Linked DNA regions of Homo sapiens: region 1 is linked to region 2. Evidence: promoter capture Hi-C in human tissues and cell types (Jung and others, 2019). All regions are on one chromosome and are shown on one strand. Each heading gives the region's core, a stretch centred on a gene start or on the middle of the fragment in contact. The rest is flanking DNA. Distances are from core to core; before and after follow the strand shown.

Region 1 (6,805 bases), core at 39-2,538, 140 kb before region 2:
GTTGTGAAGCAAAGAGAATCTTACTCTAGTGGACTCTTCCTTCTATCTTCTCATGTCTGGCCATCTTTGGTCATAAAAGGAAAGTAACCTCTAAAGGTGATGGAGCTTGGCTTACGCCATCAATTGTGCATGTGAGTATGTTTATGTCTGTATGTGTGTTTCTATGCTTGTGAACAGAAGGGGAAATTGTCCTTTCCAGGAAGGCAACATACAATAGAATCAGTATTAATTACTACTGATATTATTATTGCCACTGGGATCCTACATGTCTGGCAGGAATTTAGGACATAATGTTTAATTGATCCCACCTCTGCTACCAGTTGTGTTAGCCCAAACAAGTCACTTATCCTCTCTTGTGCTTAATTCTCTTACCAGTATAAAAGGGTTAATTACTTTTTAAAATGGTCTTATAAAATGACACAAAAAAATAAAGAACTGAGAACTGTTCCATGCATACAGCAAGCACTCAAAGAATGTTAGTAACTAATATCACTGGTAGTGTTAATCTAGATGATGATATAATTTGGTTATTTAGTCACTTACTGAGTTCAAACTATGTTCACAGAAACAATACTTAAACTACTGTTCATAAGAATTATACGGCTGGGCGTGGTGGCTTATGCCTGTAATACTAGCACTTTGGGAGGCCGAGGCAGGTGGATTGCCTGAGCTCAGGAGTTCGAGACTAGCCTGGGCAACATGATGAAACCCCGTCTTTACTAAAAATGCAAAAAACTAGCCAGGTGCGGTGGTGCGTGCCTGTAATCCTAGCTACTCAGGCGGCTGAGGCAGGAGAATCACTTGAACCCGGGAGGCGGTGGTGGCTCACTTGTGCCACTGCACTCCAGCCTGGGCAACAGAGCGAGAATCTGTCTCAAAAAAAAAAAAAATGCTTTGAATATACTCTAAAAGTCTCTGAAATATTATTGCTCTTTATTGAATTATATTGACATGTGTGATCAATTATAAATATGTTCTTGCATCAGAACATTGTCAAAGCATATGCTTCTACAATAGATGAGGAAACATAACTCCAATAGTAGTAGTATATTTATAAATAAGAAAATAATTTCCATCATGAAGAAAATTAGGATTATCTTTAACCAATCTGTTTATATGTTTAATGTGATATTTCACATTACTTGGAATTTCACACTGAAATCTTTATAATGTCAACTTAATTTTAACACTGAAATCTTTATAGTGTCAACTTAATTATTAATAACTTTCAATAACAAAAGATTCAGAATCTTCCTTTTTAATATTCAGTGTGATCTATTTAAAAAAAATCATCTCCAATCTTCAATTATCTAATCTCAAAAAATAATATTCCATCTCAATCACTTAATCTCAAATTCACTTAAATGTCAAATTTGGCTTTGCTTCTTATACACTCTGTATGCACTTTTTCCAATTCATTAGAGCACTGAAAAAGACAGTGGAAACATAATTTTGTTCATATATGGATAGAGAATTTCAGTATTTTAATCAGAGTCTTTAAGTAAATCCACGCATGATCCTGCCAAAAAAAAATCATGGACCATCATTCCCAAAGAAAAAAAATGAAATATAAATAAGATTACATAATCATAACCTGCTAAATAAGATGAAATAGCAAAGGCATCAAATAATTCCTAGGAAAAAATAGAATTATGCCTTCATTTTGTTTATTCAGTAAATTTAATGCATTTTGAAAATCCAGTTTTGTATGCAAGAATAGAGTGAGATGTATTTTACACCACAGAAAGTATTCAAATCCTGACCATGAGCCATCACCTTGTTTGCTGCACTAGCTTTCTTGCCTTTGTTTTTGGAGTGGAATTTTACATTTACTTATTGGAGTGTACCATATTTCCAAAAACAGCTAACAAAAATGGCAACACAAATTATATTAGCCTTATACAGCTGGTACAGGAAGTCTATATAGGATGGCTGTCCTTCTTCAGTACTTCATTTCTCTTGGGCAATAATCCAGGTCACTAGAACTAGAATGGGAGGGTAATCTGCTTCTCAGGGAGTAATAGAAGACCCAGTTTGTGTGGTAACTGAACACAAGCCTTGAAGACCAAGAGAGATGAGCTTAAATCCTGCTTGCCTACCTAATACTTACATGATTCATAATGTGGGGTAAAATATGCTTATGTAAAATGGAGCTTCTAATACATCAGGATTAATGTGAAGGGTTAATGTGAAGATTGTAAGAGAAAAGGTAATGTGAAATACCTGACACATGTTAGACCCTCAATTCATGTTAGCTTCCTCTCCAAGCTAAAGCAGTGTTTAGGGAATTTCTGTTAACACATAATGATACCCAAATGTCCTATAAGTCCCACAATGGTCTTCTTGAGTATCCTGATGTCAGCAATCAGTCCACATTAATAGATTTTTACCTCCTCCACATCTTTATGCTAAAAGTTCCCTTGGACTCTTCAGCCTGATATTAGTCCAGCTCCATAATTATCTCAGAGCCCTCAAAGATCCTAAGGTATTAGTCAGGAAGTACAAATTACCTTATTCTTGTATGTAGATAGAAGCCAAACTGGAAAGGTTCCCAAAGGCTTCCAGACTTACCTCTGCTCTGAAACTCACACCAAAAAGAAGAAATCTGATATTGGAGAAATGAAAACTTTTCCAAGGTGGTATAATGAAATAAAAGGAAGAAAGCAATTCAAGAAGCCCAATTTGAACATCTCTACATAGATGAAACTAGCTCATTTGATTTCCCTTCTAGTGGAATGAAGTCAAAGTCTGGAAAAAGATGAGTTTATTTGGGGCTTACAGTAACACTTACATTATAAAACTCTGACAAACTCTAAAGCAAAAATCTCTAGCTACTGGTAATTTTAAATCTACCTAACATAAAATTTAATTGAATATGAAAAAGCTTTCAACTTTTCTTTTCCTATCTTTTCTTCATTTCATTAACTGATGAAAAGAGATACTGTATTAGCAGTTATAAACAGAAACACATCATTGCCCACTACAATTGCCCTATAATTTAATCAGTACATCTTGTAGCTCATTTTTATCTGTACTGGTAACTAAAATATAATCCACGCTTGTTATTTGTCTAGGATATCATAATAACATGACTTCATATGTAGATACTATATTATTCATATAAAAATTGATTTATAAATCTTTTTCTAGAAAATATAAATGCTGAATCTTTGCTAAGGTATAGGTTAAACAGTTATTACAAACTTTGTCAAAGACAATCTTTATAGTCCCTGACATTTCATAACATGATTTATATATATATATATATATATATATATATATACACAACATACAAGTGAAAAGATTAACAACTTGAGAGTGTTTTTTCTTTAGAAGAATATTTTACTGCAAAGGTAGAGAGCCATGGGAATGTGTATGAGCACATTGAATTTAGAGTTCAAGTTCTGGCTACGAGATACCTGGGAAAGTAACACACATTGAATAGTGAGAGGCAAGCATATACCTGCCTCATCAGCAGATGAAGTGTGAGCAGAAGTCGGTGATGGAGGGGAAGGTTCCAAGCCTCCAATACTCCATGCTCACCTTCCTGCAGTTTTGGGGTTTTTTTTGTTGCTTTGTGTTTTTTTGTTGTTGTTTGTTTGTTTTTAAGACAAGATCGGGCTCTCTTGCCCAGGCTGGAGTGCAGTGGCGTGAGCTTGGCTCACTGCAGCCTCTGCCTCCCATGCTCAAGTCATCCTCCCACCTCAGCCTCCCAAGTAGCTGAGACCACAGGCATGCACCACCATGCCCAGCTAATTTTTGTATTTTTTGTAGACACAGGGTCTCATCATGTTGCTCAGGCTGGTATCCAACTCCTGAGCTCAAGAGATCCTCCTGCCTCAGCCTCCCAAAGTGCTGGGATTACAGCTGTGAGCCATCATGCCCAATCTCATCTTTCTGCTTTTGAATCAAGTCCTCATGGCTGGCATTGCCTCAGCCATCTTGATATCATAAGACAACAAGCATGAAGAGTAAAAATGGTCATCATTCCTGATTTGCCTGGGATCATCTAGGTTTGCCTAGAATAGTCCTATTCGAGTATTTGTCCTAGGTATTTCCTTTCAAATAAATAATCATTATTAATAGTTGCACTCAAATAAGCAAAGATGCATTTGGTAGCTCTCTACTTTCTACTTCCTGCTTCCTGTTTCTGACACGACCATATTAGTAGCGTGTGGGAATCTTATGCAACAATTAGAGCTCTCATTTTAACACATGCTTAAATCTAAAGGTTAGCAGTGACCTGTCTTTATTGCTGACGTTCGCCAAATGAAATATTACTCAAATCACCTTACAGAAACAGCAGGCAGTATAATTAAAGACAAAAAGAATTACACCGGACACCATTTTCTAGGAACAGACCAAAGTGGCAGTGAGAGAATGCTTTGATGCTCCTGCCATTCCGACCACACATTGTAACCCCCAAAGGTGCTGTGGCCCTTGCTAAAGACTGCGAAAGGAACACAGCAGACAGGCCACTAGTCAGAGAGATAAGTAAGGAATATGGGAAAGGATAGGTGAGGTGTATATGAAATATATGAGGGAAATCAAGGCTGAGTGCTTCTGCCTGAGAACGAATCAAGAGAAGCCTGAGGCCAAGTGGGATGGCTCAAGCCTGTAATCCCAGTACTTTGGGAGGCCGAGGCACACGGATCACCTGAGGTCAGGGGTTCGAGACCAGCCTGGCCAAAATGGCAAAACCCCGTCTCTACTAAAAATACAAAAATTAGTCAGTCATGGTGACCCACGCCTGTAATTCCAGCTACTTGGGAGGCTGAGGCAGGAGAATCACTTGAACCTAGGAGGCAGAGTTTGCAGTGAGTGGAGATAACACTACTGCACTCCAGCCTAGGCAACAGAGTGAAAATCTGTCTCAAAAAAAAAAAAAAAAAAAAGAGAGAAGTCTGAAATACTTGTGCTACAGTGGTTTTGTCATTTATTGTGTGGTGCAAATCTACAATTATTTATACAATTTATTTTGGGAAAGCTTTTTAATTTTGTAAAGAACATTAGTTCTTAAGTTCATGTTTAATGAAAATATTAATACCACACTTCCATTTATCATCTGAGAGAAATTAATAATGAATATGTAAGTTTTCAAAGTGTTTGTCAACCAGGGATCATAATAATTACTATACCTGATCACATGAAAATCAGAAACACACAACCACTGAGGAAGAATCAGCAACTTTTTAAAAGTCTGGCAGTTATATTATGAAGATGGTAACGGAATACAATGATTTACGATGTGAAACTGGAAATGGGTGTTTACACATCACTCTGTGGAGTGCGACTTTGCATTTACATCAAGTGCCTGACTTCTAGATTAATTTTATGCATTATTCTATTCCAAGTTTTCTTGTGAACATACGAAGAGCTATAAATTTGTTACTTCCATTTAGCAAATGATCTTCAAAAGCAGTTAAATAATCCTGTGTCATAAATGCTTCAAGTAGAAGCATAGAAATAAAAATAGAAAATTAGTTAAATTTAATTCTTAAAATGATTTGAATTTTAAATCTAATTTACATATTTAAAATAAAGCTCTTACAAGCTCATTCTGCTGAAACTGAAACGTGATATAATGGTAAACACTATCGTAAATGTAGTTAAAATGTTCATCGACAAAAAATTATTTGCTTTTATGGTGATAATGTGAATACAAGTCTTATTGTAGTATAGCTTTGGAATAAAATCAATGTTCTTAATACATGTATTTGGAAGTGGCTGAGATGAATTAGAATTCATAACTGCATCCAAACTAGTTTCTAGTTTCAATATTGTACTAATATTGTAGTAATCAAAATACAGCTGTAGTTGTCAAAATTTACAAATGTGTATGTGTATGTATTTATACCCAGATTCTCTTTTTTTTCTTTTCTTTTCTTTTTTTTTTTTTTTCTTTGAGAGAGAGTCTCATTCTGTCATCCAGGCTGAAGTGCAATGGCGTGAGGTCAGCTCACTGTAACCTCTGCCTTCCAGGTTCAAGCAATTCTCCTGCCCCAGCCTCCCAAGCAGCTGGAATTAAAGGTGCCTGCCACCACACCCAGCTAATGTTTATATTTGTAGAAGAGATGGAGTTTTGCCTTATTGGCCAGGCTGGTCTCAAACTCCTGACTTCAAATGATCTGCCCGCCTTGGCCTCCCAAAGTGTTGGGATTACAGACGTGAGCCACCGTGCCTGGCCACAAATTCTCTATATTTTAAATTCAAACACATTTAAAACATGGAAACACTAAAAAATTAACAACATTCAAAAACACTGGCAAATGTTTATTCAAAGTATCCAATAAAAGGAATGCCAAAAAATACACTGGCTTTTACAGTTTGGGGTCAATTGCAATTACTAGGAATAGGCTAGAACAGAAAAACACGCATAAGATCAAGGAAATTGGAAGATCAAATGTGCCTTAAGATTTAATATTTAAATTCTCTGTATTTAGAAATATATTGGATTGTGGGAAGAATCTTTCAATAGGGCTTATGTTTTTCACTGGATAATTTTATACTCTGTATAAGATTAAAATAACATTGAGATGACCTACAATTACATGGTGTTGAAATTTGACAAAATAATCAAGTTTTGACAAATTTAAATATGACAATTTTCTAATATGATAATCTGAAAATTTTTGTCCAAGAAAATTACTCTGAATCAAGGCACAAAGATAGTATTTGTAAAATATTTTAGCTGAAATATTTATTATTTTACAATATGAAAATATTAGAAGAATATGTTCCTTTTAGCAAAATTTTCTCTAAGCTTACAGGAACCTCAACATGTAGAAAGTGATTATTGACAATT
Region 2 (7,245 bases), core at 1,744-4,243:
AATATTTTGATATATTTAAATATATCTACCTTAATCATCAATATTGTGGCAATAGATTATATATCTATTTAAAACTATTTCAATTTTTAAGTGTTTTTACATAAAGTACATTTTTAAGTATTTAGTTCACTATTTACTGCACATTAGTTTAAGTTTTTTTTTCTGTTATACTTGTTTCTGCTCTCTTACCATTTTTACATTAAAAAAAAGTGTGAGAGGGCTTTTCAATTAGGTGAATCTAAAGTCTTTTTGGCTAAATTTTTCTAAAATTTTAGTTTAAGAAGTTTTTTTCTTGTTGATTTCTCATCCAGAATACATATTAAAAGGGCATTTGCCACATTAAATTGCATTGAACTTCCTTTTCAAAGCCATTGTACTCATAGAACATGTCTATCTATCCTTGAAGATGAATTTGACTGGAGTCATTTGGCTTCCCTAATCGCTCTGCTTTTAAATTTAATCATGAAGAACTCCGGGTACTCAGTGCTAAGAACTAATGATTGCCCTGAAAATGTCAGTCAGCCTAAGTGACTGACAATTTTTTCTTTGTGAGGTGAGTATATGACATTAAATACTGGTTGAATAAAAGAATAAAAAATCAGAGTAAAGAGATCTTTGTTTTATAAATTAGGTATATTGTTCCTCTAGATCTAATCTAACTATAGTTGTGATTATTTAAATCTGTTCAAAAGGAATGAACTAAATTCTGGTAAAGGAATAAGAGTCCTGAACTGGGAGACCGGGATCACTCTATCAAAATCTGCTGCTAATATGACTGGAGATTTAAACACCTTCATCTTTAAATTATGAGTGCACAACTAGATAATTTCAGTTGTCTCATTCAATTTTATGTTTCTTTCTTTTTCCTTTTTCTTTTTTTTCTTTTTTTTTTTTGAGACGGAGTCTCACTCTTGTCACCCAGGCTAAAGTGCAGTGGCGCAATCTCCGCCTTCTGGGTTCACGCCATTCTCCTGCCTCAGCCTGCCGAGGACCTGGAAGTACAGGTGCCCGCCACCACGCCCAGCTCATCTTGTATTTTAGTAGGAACGGGGTTTCACCACCACGCTGCCGTCAAACTCCTGACTTCAGGTGATCCGCCCACCTCGGCCTTCCAAAGTGCTGGGATTACGGGAGTGAAACACCGCGCCCGGCCGGTTTTTTGTTTCTTAACTGGAGAGCTGGAGCCATTATGAGCAAAATAAACATAAAAGATTTTTTCCGTCCAACCGATGGACTAAGCTAGACGTTGTATCTTCAGCATTTTCTCTTCATGTACACCATTGACTATTCAGCACTATACCTAGCAAATATCAGTCATAAATGAAAACTATAGTCTGTTTTCACAGAAATGTTTCTTGTGATTTTCCCTCTTCGCTATTCTTATTTTCATTGTCTTAACTCAGGTCATCAGCATCTTTTCCCATGAACTACTGAATTTTTCTCCTAACAGACCATGTTCTTCATCTTCCTGCATCCCATGTATCTCCAATGTTTCCAAGGTGTCTTTCTTGATGAAAAAGCACTGATTTTATAAACTTCAATCTCTTCCTTTGGTTTAGAGGTTAAAGCCTAACCCATATATAGAATTCTGCATCTTTCCCAATCAAGTTTTCTTATTTTTCTAGTACAGTCTTTTGCCAATTTCCATCTTCCTTCTTATCTTTGGATTCACATCCCCAACTCCGGAGAAGGCAAAAACATCAAATTTATTTACATCAATCGTTTATTTTTTCCCACTTTATGCTTTTGGCAATGCTGCTCCTGCTGCATAGTATACACTTTCCCCTTTTTATCAGGTGAAATTCTACCTATTTATAAGTCCCTGCTCAAATACTAATCATATTGAAAGCTTCTCTGAATACCTTGGAAGAAAAAGTTCTGCCTCCCTCATCTGAAATCATCTCATAGCACTTTTATGTAACCCTATTTTAGTACTTAACACATTGAGTTATATTTAGTTATTGCCCTTATACTTTCTCTGGTAGATTATGTGCTAATTTCTTTCTTTCTTTATCCATCTATCCATCAAGAATTAATTGAAGACCTGCTATTCATCAGATACTTTGTTAGAATATAGGGGACGGAGTTGTAAGAACTGATTTTAGCTTTAACAAGTTTATTCTTTATATGGAAATCCAACATTTAAGTTAATTTTAATTTACAATATAGAATATTGAGTGCTGTGGTAGGTACTCGTCTCTGCAGAGAATATTTTGGAAAAAAGGAGCATTAAAATCTACTGCATAGGAAGGTAAGAATTAGGCCCAGGGACTTTCTCTGGTTGAGGTCGACCATTCATTTATTAACTATTTAGAGTGGAGTATAATTAATTCTCGATAGATGTCATTAAATACACTTTGTTTCGAGTACGTCGAGGCTTATTCTCTCTAGTGTGTTGGATAAAGGCCACAGGTAGTGAAGATATTTCAGAGATGTGAAGAATCCAGTAGGAATGACAACATCCAGCACTTCCATTCAACCAGATCCCACAGGGAAAATGTCAGTTTTGTGAAGGCAGATACATTAACCACATACAACTCGATTAATATAAACAAATAATCTTATCCATTGAGCTCTCCCACAGACCTTCTTGGGCCCAATCAGACAATAATGAAGTGCAGGCGAGACAGCATTCTGCACTCACATTCCAGGCACTGGTTCAAGTCCCTCCTCCAGGTCCCTCAAGAAAGAGACAGGATGACTGACTTACTGTATATTTGACTCATTTTCCTAGAAAGTGCAGACTCGCTATAAAATGTGTTAGGTGGTGAGAACGCTGATGGTTCACCGTTTTCCTCCACTTTCAGCCTCAGTGCAAACCCTCTGCCCAAAGCCTCGCTCCAGTACGGAGGAGCTGCGCCTTCAACACACTTTCTCTGTTGCCAGGTAACCACTTCTCCCTCAGCCTAGTCTCCAAGGGTCACGAGCCACTTCCGCCTCCCCCTCTCGGGCGCTCCAATCAGCGACCTGTGTAGCTGTCACGTGGGCCTCTGGGGCAGACCCTGGAGATCGGGCTCGCGGCGCCTTCCATCGTGGCTCCGCGCTGGGGCTTGCGGAGCACGCTTCCCGCCCCTCGGAGCCCGCGGGCCCGGCCGCCCCGCCCCCGGGCGCCCTGAGCGAGCAGGCGGGGAGGGCGGGGAGGGTCCGCGCGTTGGTGGTGCTCGCCTCGCAGCTGCGCCCGCCGGCTTCAGCACCTTCCGCTGTCCGCCGCTGCAGCCGCCTCCTCCTCCAGGTAAGAAGCCGGTGGGGCCGCAGAGATACCAAGGCAAGCTCAGGATTGATGTGGGTGATGCTGGAACTGTCGCGGCGTCATGCGAGAGGGGCTCTGACCTCCCTGTGATCGCGGACCAGGGTAATGTACGTCCTGCAGGGCTTTGCACACCATGGTGCCTGATGAGATAATCAACTGAGTTTTAGAGCCACACACCTGATTCTTACAAGGCACAGCAAGCAGCGAATATTTATGTATCTAAACTACCATTGCAGTGTAAACTGTGGACATTTCGAGGGACATTGTTTTATTTTTATGGCTATTAAGTATATGTCTAGAGCCTAGGTTGCTGTTCTCATCCCTCCGCCGGCCAGACACTTCTGTATAGATCATTTACCCCTTTGAAGATGGACTTATTAGTAGGGTTGTACTAAGAAAGGTTTGAGTAAAAAGGAAATGCGTTCCAGAAAAAAGACGGTATTGGATATAAGGCAGGTATACTATTTATTAAGTAGATCGTAAAATAGAATCTTTGCTGTCCTCCCCTCTCCAAAATCAGACTTGTTTTGCTTGCAAAGATTGAAAGGAACAAACAATTTAAGGAGACTTTTTAAATATATTAATTAAAAGCAATTGATTCGAATGAAAAGTAATGAAAAGTCCGACCATGCATCAAAAATAAATTATTTTGCATATTAATATATACATATATACTATATATATTTAACAAGGGTTTGAAGAGAGATACTACATTTCTGAATCTTTCATAAATACCCTTTAGAGAAAACTATCAAAAAAACACAAGTTCGTTGTAAAAGGATACGAAACGGCCAAAGCCCAACAATGTGAGATTATAGTTGCCGTTCTTAGCACTCTAATAACATTTCTGCGTTGTAAAAATTAGAAAATAAATGACAATGAATTTATGAGAATTTATAAATTTGAACTCCACAAGAGTTTAAGCATTAATTTATTTGTAGATTTATGCCTTATCATTACCCTGCTTGCCAGGAGCTGATGCTGGGCGGGTGGTGAAACAAACTCTGTGGAGAAAGCACTCTTACATCCTTTTGAGATTCTGCCTCACTGGCCTAAGTGTTCAAGAAAATGGATATAGTTATATCTAACTGTTTTGAAGGCAGACGTCTGAGATAGGTGGTCTGAGAACCTTTCCCCTCCTATCATCTAAAATTAAATATAGTTATTAAGTGCTTTTGAAAAGTTGTCAATTCGTTAATATTTTGGGAAACATCCTTTACTGGATTGTTTGGAGATTAATGTTACAAATGGTAGCTTTAGAGTTCCTGGGAAGTTTTAAAGCAATGACTTATTTCAAAGGGCATATACGGAAAGTAAAGCTCTTGAGTTCTGCAAACGTAATTATGTAAAAATAACTAGTTGAATGTTATTGTTTACATTGTTCTGACTTTCTCTTGTGTTGATATTAATAGAACTGCTTAAAAAACTGTGGACATCTGAAGAAGACGTTAAATATGCTTACTTGAAAGTTTTAACATTCTTTATTCTTCTTATTTCTAATGATAAATAGTGGTGTTCTAAATATTTTTAAGTTACCCATTAGTCACATAAATAATTCCATAGATTAGAAAGCCATAAATTAATTTAGGCCAGAAAAACAATGCTCCCAGTAGAGGGGAGACTAGGGCTAGATTGCTTTTGTTGTTGCTGTTTTCTACAGACTCTATCTTGTATCCTTTAGTCTGGGAAAGGAGGGACAGGGCCAGTGGCAGTTTTTTAATTACTTGGAGAAGTTTAAGAACAGGTTTCTGTTTGTTTGTTTTATGGTTTTACCCTGATGGATACTAGAAGTCCAACATGAATGATTAGGTTGTCACTATTAATGAAATGTGTAAATTCTCCAGAGTACCTGATTTTGTTGCCTAAATACTTTAATGACGACTAAAATGTAATTCTGACAGTTTTGAAGGATTCACATTTTCATCCTATATTCCAGAATTTCTTTGAAATCTAACATATGCAAGAAAGGTAACGCTTTATCAGATTACTGAATTGTAATACTGAATACTTAAGAGTTTACCCAGCTATTCATGATAATTATGTATATGGAAGCATCATTGCTACTTTTGACCACTGCTGAATTATCTCATTTTACATTTTGTATACCTCTTCCATTGAACAGATGGAAATATTAAAGTGAAGTCATGTATCTTCCAGTACGTCTTCAGGAACAGAGATTTCATCGAAATTATATTAATTTATAGAAATCATATGAGGATAGGCTGCGTGCGGTGGCTCATACCTGTAATCCCGGCACTTTGGGAGGCTGAGGCAGGCGGATCACCTGAGGTGAGGAGTTTGAGACCAGTCTGGCCAACATGGTGAAACCCCATGTGTACTAATAATACAAAAATTAGCTGGGCGTGGTGGTGCACGTCTGTAATCCCAGCTACTTGGGAGGCTGAGGCATGAGAATCTCTTGAACCCAGGAGGCCCGGAGGTTGCAGTGAGCCAAGATTGCGCCACTGCATGCCAGCCTGGGCGACAGAGCAAGACAACGTCAAAAAAATTAAAGAAAAGAAAAAGAAAAAAAGGAGGATATTGGAAGGGATTTTTTATTAATTCATGCTCCTTTTCTTTTGTATCAGAAACATATGAAACTTAAGATTTGGTTGGTACTTTTTGATACCCAAGACTGTGCTTTATCCTGTTAAAATAGTATCGTGATTATTCTTTCATTGTTGATAAAACTATTCCTTGAAATTTGTGAGCAAGAAATTAGATACGGATACCTGAAGAGAATTTTAGAAATTCTCCCAAAGAATCTACTCTATAAGGAAACAAAACCTAGAGAAAAACATTTTTCTTATTTGAGTTTACTTAAAATGTTCACGAAGGACTTGCAACTTTGGTAATAAAAATTGGTAGAAATAATATAAAATGATCAGCTTTGTATAGTAAAAGAAAAATTCCCATCACGATTAATTAGAAAGATTTGAAAAGTTTCCATGCTTAAAGCATGGGCTGTCACATTAGAAGGCAGAGTTCAGGTTGTTTTCATCTGATTTCAGTGACTAGACAGGTATAATTTCAGTGACTAGTCAAACATTTCAAATAGGCTAGATTTTGTAAGAAAAAAAAAGAACTTGATATTGGAGCCACAGCTGGCACCTGCCTTCCAGATGTCACATTATCAGCTACTTGAGGAAAATAATTTATATATATATATTGATAAAAGTCTTACTTTTTATTATGTTAAATGTACTTACAAAGTATTGTTCAGTAAGCTGTCTTATAAAATTCTGTAATTCTACATTCTAATTTAAAAAATGTACTGTAGAAATAGACAGTAATATAAATCTATAATTAAGATAATACAGGAGGTAATTTAACAATGTTATTTGCTATGATAAGGATGATTGATAATTGTCATGTTCGGATAAATTGTAGCAAAAGTGTAAGAAATAAATTTCCATGTGTCAGTGAAGATGTTATAACAGTCAATACTTGTTTTGTACATTCAAATGTTCTGAGATGGAGAACTCAAGATTGAGGTCCTTAAACAATTTTTCTTATGCTTAGGTTTATTGTTTTCTTCTTCCAGATTCTTCCCATTTTTTTTAGTTGTAAGCATGTACCAGTGTCCCAGGCAGACTCATTTACAATGATGTGTAGTAAGTTCAATTTCATATCACGCACACAGAAAACTTACTTTCAAATCGGAAAGTAGAAAATAATTTTTATTACACAAAGCACTCGTGTTTAACATGCTATTAAAAAAACCCTTCATTACAATACAAACAGCTCCACATGGAGTCTCAAAAAAATGAATAGTTGGTTAATAAGAAATAGCTAACATTTAATTAAGTTTGATTCTTTAAGATAAAACATTATGGATGACTTTTAATGAAAAGAGTTATGCAACATTTTATTTTTAAGGTAAACAGGTTTGAAGGGGTCATTTTGGAATTTATGATAGAAGGATCCTTAAGACCAGTTACTCTAACACCGTTATTCTGTTAATGAGGACACTAAACACATAAAAATTATGTTCT

Evidence for each region. The method cuts DNA at HindIII sites, captures the fragments that hold promoters and counts their contacts. A contact is called where the count stands out against the background at its distance.
Region 1: a fragment that was not itself captured here is called in contact with the fragment with the promoter of WDR17 in region 2 in 2 of the 25 tissues and cell types used here (dorsolateral prefrontal cortex and hippocampus).

Annotation. Positions count from the first base shown.
Region 1 is chr4:175,919,965-175,926,769 of GRCh38, forward strand. The region is part of intron 3 of LOC107984113 (a long non-coding RNA gene); the gene reads right to left. It also overlaps a transcript of GPM6A not described here. Among named protein-coding and RNA genes, the nearest start is that of GPM6A, 110 kb to the left of the region's middle. The HindIII fragment of the contact is 5,293 bases long and covers 1-3,935 here.
Region 2 is chr4:176,062,848-176,070,092 of GRCh38, forward strand. WDR17 (WD repeat domain 17) reads left to right here and starts at 2,994. Exons shown (of 29, transcript NM_181265.4): 1 at 2,994-3,232. RefSeq lists a silencer at 2,870-3,249. The HindIII fragment of the contact is 11,750 bases long and covers 1-7,245 here.